Linked DNA regions of Homo sapiens: region 1 is linked to region 2. Evidence: promoter capture Hi-C in 16 types of primary human blood cells and fetal thymus (Javierre and others, 2016). All regions are on one chromosome and are shown on one strand. Each heading gives the region's core, a stretch centred on a gene start or on the middle of the fragment in contact. The rest is flanking DNA. Distances are from core to core; before and after follow the strand shown. Region 1 has its middle 15 kb from the start of POLR2M. Region 2 holds the start of GCOM1 (GCOM1, MYZAP-POLR2M combined locus).

Region 1 (3,269 bases), core at 54-2,553, 130 kb before region 2:
ATGTGAGAGAAAATGGGAAGGGAGGAGCTGACAGTGTGATAGACAACTCTTCCAAATTATGCTTTCTTGCTACCCTTTGGCTGTTCAGGGCCCCTCCAGGCTGCTTCCTATCCTTTTCCTCCTCTTTCATGTTCCATTTTCTCTCTTCTCTCCTACCACCCTCCACCCCGCAAAAAACTTGCCCGTTCCATTTACCATTGCTTTAAGCCCTACCTTCCTTCAGGAAAAAATCATCTAATAATCTGATATGCACTGAGATATTGATAAGAGTTGATTGATGCTAATTAGCCAGCTATACTGTTCAGACCCCAAGAGTCTTGTTACCCTTGGATGCTGATAAAAGACTAAGAGGTTTCAGAAGGACAGGTGAGAAGTTTCTGTAGGCTGATGGAAGTGGAACTGCTGAAGATGGAAAAGAAGAGGTGTGAAAATGGGCACATTCAAAACAGACCAAGTCAGGCAGTGAAAAGGAAAATGGGGTCATGCTTATAAATAATCGGCAGCACATTACCCATGTTCAAGAAAATTGTAGTATCGGACCCAGCTGCAATGGTTATGACTATCTTTAAAAACATCTAAAGTTTTAAAATTAGAAACTAGATTTCTGGCACTGCGCTTTTTCAGTCATTTTGTAAACATGTGTTAATTAATTATCAGATGACTCCATATTAATCAAAGAGCACTGAACTAGGAAAGAAAAAAATTGGCTGTGTCGGAACCAGCTGCCCAACCACAGCAAGTCTCCGTGCTTCTCTGTGCCTCGGTTTCTTCACTTACAGGGTTTGGAACAAATAACTAAGCTTCCTTCCCTCCCTAAAATCTGAAGATGTTAATTCAATGTAAGATTTGTTTTCTGTTGCCAGTTACGGTGTTTCTAATGGTGCTTCGTTTTTACCCCCACTAAGAGTAACTAAAGGGGAGAAAAAAATCTTTTTTATTAAAAATCTAAATATCGACAGAAGATAGGCTTTCACTTTTACAACACAATCACTAGAAAAGCTATTTAATTCAATACAAATATAGGTGGTACTGATTAGGAGAAAGGATATATTTACTAGCAATATTTTCAGACAAAATTTATAAGCACTGAGCCGAGTCTCCCTCTTTTAAGGAGTATTTCTGTATGCTCTAAAATAAGGACTTGATTTACAACTCTCATTCTTTTGCCTTAATAATGTGCAATTTTTCCATATGAAGTTGGATCTCTCCTTAGCTCAATGTCCTAATTTCCCCTTGTCAAAATAGCTTTTTTAGGGAGTCCCTATTGTTCTCAGTTAATTTTAACACTAAATTAAAAGTTTCATATGGTGGTGATTTTGAAACATTTTACTTCATATGGCCAAAGGTACCTTCTAAACTACTTCAATCATAATTGTTACCATCGTTACAATAAGGTTTTCATATAGAATCTCTTTTAGATCTCAAAATGCTCTATAAAGACCACACTTTGAAATTTTGTTCTCTTAAAACATACCTCATACATTAGATAAGGGGTCACTGACCTCATCTTACAGACTTAATAGTCATGAGAGTACATAACTTCCCACTGGATTCAAAGGAAATAGTGGTATTTAAATCCTAAATCTAATAATCTAATGCTATTCCAGTGGCTTACCCTCTTTTTTAATTTTTTTTTGCCTTTTTTTAAATTCCAAGTTTTCTAAAACCATCTGGGAAGTAATAGATCATATTTAATTGTTCAGGCTTTTATGCTGTACTTTCAGAATCGCGTCTGATTTGTGGTCTGGCTCTGGTTCAGTATTATCCCACACTAGGTTTATTTCATCAGCCCAGTATCAAAGCTTCCTCACTTTAGCCAGAAATTAAAATAATAGCTTTAAGAAACTCCTCCACTCCACCCCCCTTTAGCAAGCAGCTAGCCAATAATGTGATTTGCCATATTTTTTAAATGACTATATGCTCCCCATAAAAGCTGGATATATAATCCTTTTATTTGGCACAGGCATTCCCAACTTTTTTTGTGCAACGACAGAATTATTTTTGTCCTAACAACTTTACTTTTAGTGTTACGAACTATGTCATTAAGCCTGGGAAGGCTAAACTGCCAGATTGACCTGGTCCTCTGAGTAAAGCCCATGACACTTTACTTTTCCTTATATCTCTTCTCCTGAAAAGTTTTATGCAGCTGACCATCAAGTAAGGAGGGAGGAGTGAAGATTCCAGCAGTGACTGAAATGATCACACAGCCGTAAGATGATTAAAAACGAAACACTGCAAATAAAAAAAATCATCAGAAGAAAAAAGCTCTCTTGTAGAATGTCATGGAGACCTGACAAACACCCCCAGAGTCATCTGAGCTCTTGTCTGGCGTTAGCACGTGTTAACACCTGAACGCAGCCTTGATTTGTGGTATTCACCTGCAAGGCCATGCAGTCAAGGGCCTAGAATCTTGAGTGCTGGGTTCTTTTCTTGGCTGCCTCTGAGCGACCTTGAACAAATCACCTCAACCTCCCAGTTATAGGAAAGGGAGATAATCCCACAAACTACCTTCCACATTAGCTCACAGCCTGGCTCCCCAGAGAATGCGATGTCGATTAGAGACAGGTCCTGTGAAAATGAAGAATTCACAATAGCAAAGACTTGGAACCAACCCAAATGTCCAACAATGATAGACTGGATTAAGAAAATGTGGCACATATACACCATGGAATACTATGCAGCCATAAAAAATGATGAGTTCATATCCTTTGTAGGGACATGGATGAAATTGGAAACCATCATTCTCAGTAAACTATCGCAAGAACAAAAAACCAAACACCGCATATTCTCACTCATAGGTGGGAATTGAACAATGAGATCACATGGACACAGGAAGGGAAATATCACACTCTGGGGACTGTGGTGGGGTCGGGGGAGGGGGGAGGGATAGCATTGGGAGATATACCTAATGCTAGATGACACATTAGTGGGTGCAGCGCACCAGCATGGCACATGTATACATATGTAACTAACCTGCACAATGTGCACATGTACCCTAAAACTTAGAGTATAATAAAAAAAAAAAAAAAAAAAAAAGAAAATGAAGAATTATCATTCCTGTAGACGACTATTATATAATGAGATTAATCCTCGTAACATCTTCCACGATTTAGGTTAAGCCCCAAGCTTTAGCGCTTCCTTCCTTCCCTAGACATAGTCATTTGAAAACTGAAGGCAAGAGTTCACAACTACTGCATTCATTCCATTTTCCCAGTTTAAACCTAAATGTGACTTTTTAAAAAATCCTTTCTCTTCCGTTTTTCCTCAGT
Region 2 (3,539 bases), core at 241-2,740:
ATTGTGTTCAAATTGAGAAAGATTTCCATAGAAAAATACAAACACCCAACTTAGAGTAAGGCCAGGACTGTGGTTGGAAACCCCCTTGGACCCAATGTAGATCTTACTCTATGATGCTAATGATTGGACAACTGGAGTTCTGTCAACCTTGGGCATGAGCCAACTGATGGATTCTGGGGTGTGTGTGTGTGTGTGTGTGTGTGTGCGCCTGTGTACACAACCTAAGTGTCTGGTGAGTGCACGCACACACACACCCCAGAATCCATCAGTTGGCCCATGCCCAAGAGTAACACACCTTTCTTCTAGAGCTAAGAAAGACAGCTTATAAGGTGACCACCATCACTCGCTTAAGGCATGTAAAAGCAAATAAGCAGGTCCAAGCCTGCACGCAGACAGAACCAGTGGGGGTTTTGCTTTGGACTTAACCACCTGTTTAAATCTTGAGGAAACACGATTACAGAAGTCTCAATCAGAGCAAAGAGGTACCAAATGATAAGTATTGAACATCATGATAAATGGAAGAACTAAAAAGCCACAAGCCAAGCCCCTGGCTGTGGCTCTAAGGTGCTGACCGTGTTAGAAAGATGGAGCATTTCTTTTACAGAGCATCTGGAGAGATGGGAAAAGATGCCACAAAGATCAAAAAGAAACAGCACTTCCAAAGGGAAACCTTCCCTGGAGATGCTGTCCCAAGCTTTCAGTGCTGCCATTGTTGTCACTGTGCTAATATTTAAATCAGACAGAAGAAAGTGGTTTACATAAACCGGAGTCCCACACAGTCGGGCTCCTGGGCGGCCGGCTGCTGTTCTGGTTTGCCCACCTTGGCTAACCCCACTCCAGAATTACCCTATCACTAGTGGATACCCTATCACTAGTGGACACAAGTGACCCCATCTTTCTTTTAATTAATGGAAGAAGGAAAGTTTGAGTTTTAAATACATTCATTACTTTTGAGTCTCAAGGTAGGGACACTGCACAAATGTCTTCCTTCATTTTTAAACTGGTGCCGCCAATAAACTCGGCTTGACAGAAAGGCAGGAAGGAGAGGAAATCTCTGGGAATTCCATAAAGTCCCCTAAGCCCTCTCCTACCAGCTGGTGGGCCCCCTGAAACCTCAAGCGGGAGGGTCACTGCCAGAGCCGGCACAGGACCGGGGAGTTGAGCCCAGGGTGGGGCGTCGGGGCCAGGTGCTGGCTCCCGAGCTTTCCCATCCCTAGTCCCCTCTAGAGGGGGCGGCCGGGATGGGGGAACGGGACGGCGGCGGCTCCCGCCCCCGCTACTCACCCTCCTGCTGGGCGCCCCGGGCGTCCTGGCGGCGCCGCCCGAGAGCAGGGTGACCGTGGACGTGGAGCGCAGCATCCCGCAGCGGCGGTCGGTAGCGGGCTGGACGCCGGCGTTCCTCCCGGGCAGAATAAGCGTGCGGGGCCCGCCCTGCGCGGGGGCGACGCGGGACGGCGCCGGCTACTTGCAGCCTCAGCTGCACCGCGAAGGCCCGGGGGTGGGGCCGGGGGCGGGGCCGGGCCGGGCCGGGGCGGGGCCGAGCGCGCTCACCCGACCCGTCAGGCTGCATTTTCTCCCGAGGGCGCCGACCCGGTTAAAGTTGAGCACCATCCTCTCCCAGGGCGCTGCGCCCTCCCAGGGTCAGTCCCAGGGCAAGAAGGAGCCCTGGACAGCCTGGACGCCCATGCTCTCTCTGTCCCCCGCAGAGTTGAGATCCACCTGCCCATTCAGTCTCACGACCTACCCCCACCCCGGACTGCCCCCTACAGCCTCTGCACGCCCTCGTATCACTGGGACCCTCACCCCATGTCATTCATTCAGTATTTCCTGAATGCCTATTATGCGTCCCCACCAGCAGCCAACCCAGTCGACTGGCTGTTGGCCTCGGAGAGTTTGCAGTGTGGTGGGGATGACAGGTGCCGGGCTGTGGTAGAAGAGGAGATACCATGTACTAAGGGAGCACACAGCCAACCTCAGAGGAGGTGATGACTAAGCTAAGACCTGAAATGCAAGTAGGAGTGGGCCACACTGCCCATATTTATTCAATGATTACTGTGGGCCTGCCTGGCGAGCACTTTGCGTGTGTTACCTCATTTAATCCTCACCATTGCCCTTTGAGGGAGTCACTGTTGTTACCTTGTATCCCCATTTTGCAGATGAAGACGCTGACTCACCTAGGGATTGAGCAACACAGCAGGCGACCCACTGGCCTCTCAGTGGCAAAGGTAGGATATGAATCCCCCAGTCCGACCCTAGTGCCTTGCTTGTCCCCTCTGCTGTCCCCTAACAGAGGGAGGAGGGAGTCCCAGGTCAAAAGAACTAGCATGCACAAAGATGGAAGGAAAGCAAGGGAAGGTATAAAATATGTTTCAAGAATTGGAAGTATCACAGTGCAGTGGGAAAACAGTGGAGAAGCAGCGGAAGGGAGCTGAGGACATCATGAGGAACCTGTGTGCTTAGCTGGAAATTTGGCCTTTATCTTGAGGACAAAGTGTTTTTCAGCAGGGAAAGACACAATCTCTGTCTTCAAAGCCCAGGTCAAGCACTGCCTCCCCACGGAGCTCTCCAGAAACCCCTTCCCCAAACACGCATGCTCAGGAACTTAGCAGCTCCGCGGGACCCTGTCTTCTGTTAGAGTTATCTATGTGTGTGCCTGTACCCTGTCCTTCTGGAGGGCAGAGGCCAGGCCTTGACCCTCTCTGAATGCCCAATGGCACCAACAGGGAAGATGCTGAAAAAAAAATGTTGCTAAACAGAATTACAGATGATCCTGTGGAACTCACTCCTTTTGTAGATGAGGAAACTGAGGCCGGTGTATACAAGTGACTTTCCCAAAGTTGCACAGCCTGTTCTTCACCATCCTCATCGTCATCCTCACAGTAGCTGTGCTTGTGTCCTAAGTGCTTTATATGCATTTTCTCAACCAATTCTCACAATGCCCCACAAGGTGGGCTACAGTTATCGCCCCTGTTTTGCAAATGAGGAAACTGAGGCCAGAGACATTAGGTTAATTGGTGAACAGCTGAGACTACACATCTAGTCTTCTAACCCAAGTCCTTCTGCTTTTCTGCTACACTCCTCTCTGCATCCTCCCATCCACCTATCCCTTCCAAAAAGAAAATTGTTCATGACAGGTTCCTTCCCATTCCACTTCCACGAAGCCCTCTAATCTACCCAAGTCTTTTTCATATTGTTAACATCCTATTCACACGGTGTTATATTTCTTTACAAAAGCAGCAGACAGCTCACTAGCTTGTGAGCTCTGTGTAGAAGCTGGATCTTGTTTACATCTCTGCCTGTCCAATATCTAGAGCAGGTAATTGACGTGTGGTAGTGCAAGTAAATGTGGAAAGAATGAAGAAATGTTATTACAGAGTAAGATTTCAACTCACTCATGGTCATGAAAAACAGAAACTAAGATCCTTGCCAACCCAGCTCCTAGGGTGGGCCAGGGACTCCAAGCAATTTGGCAGCTGAAGCAACAAGAGCCCCAGGGTTGTCCCAGCCAGGCCATTTCCCCAAAGCTGGCTGACAATCGC

The links. Contacts are between HindIII fragments. The CHiCAGO score rates a contact against its expected background, and 5 or more counts as called.
Region 1: a contact is called between a fragment that was not itself captured here and the fragment with the promoter of GCOM1 in region 2, in 1 of 17 cell types (naive CD4 T cells). The highest score is 5.6, in naive CD4 T cells.

What each region holds. Positions count from the first base shown.
Region 1 is chr15:57,719,594-57,722,862 of GRCh38, reverse strand. No RefSeq gene overlaps it. Among named protein-coding and RNA genes, the nearest start is that of POLR2M, 15 kb to the right of the region's middle. The HindIII fragment of the contact is 1,002 bases long and covers 803-1,804 here.
Region 2 is chr15:57,589,855-57,593,393 of GRCh38, reverse strand. GCOM1 (GCOM1, MYZAP-POLR2M combined locus) reads right to left here and starts at 1,490. Exons shown (of 17, transcript NR_104371.3): 1 at 1,285-1,490. MYZAP (myocardial zonula adherens protein) reads right to left here and starts at 1,490. Exons shown (of 13, transcript NM_001018100.5): 1 at 1,285-1,490. The coding sequence starts at 1,359. RefSeq lists a silencer at 1,492-1,601. The HindIII fragment of the contact is 3,808 bases long and covers 697-3,539 here.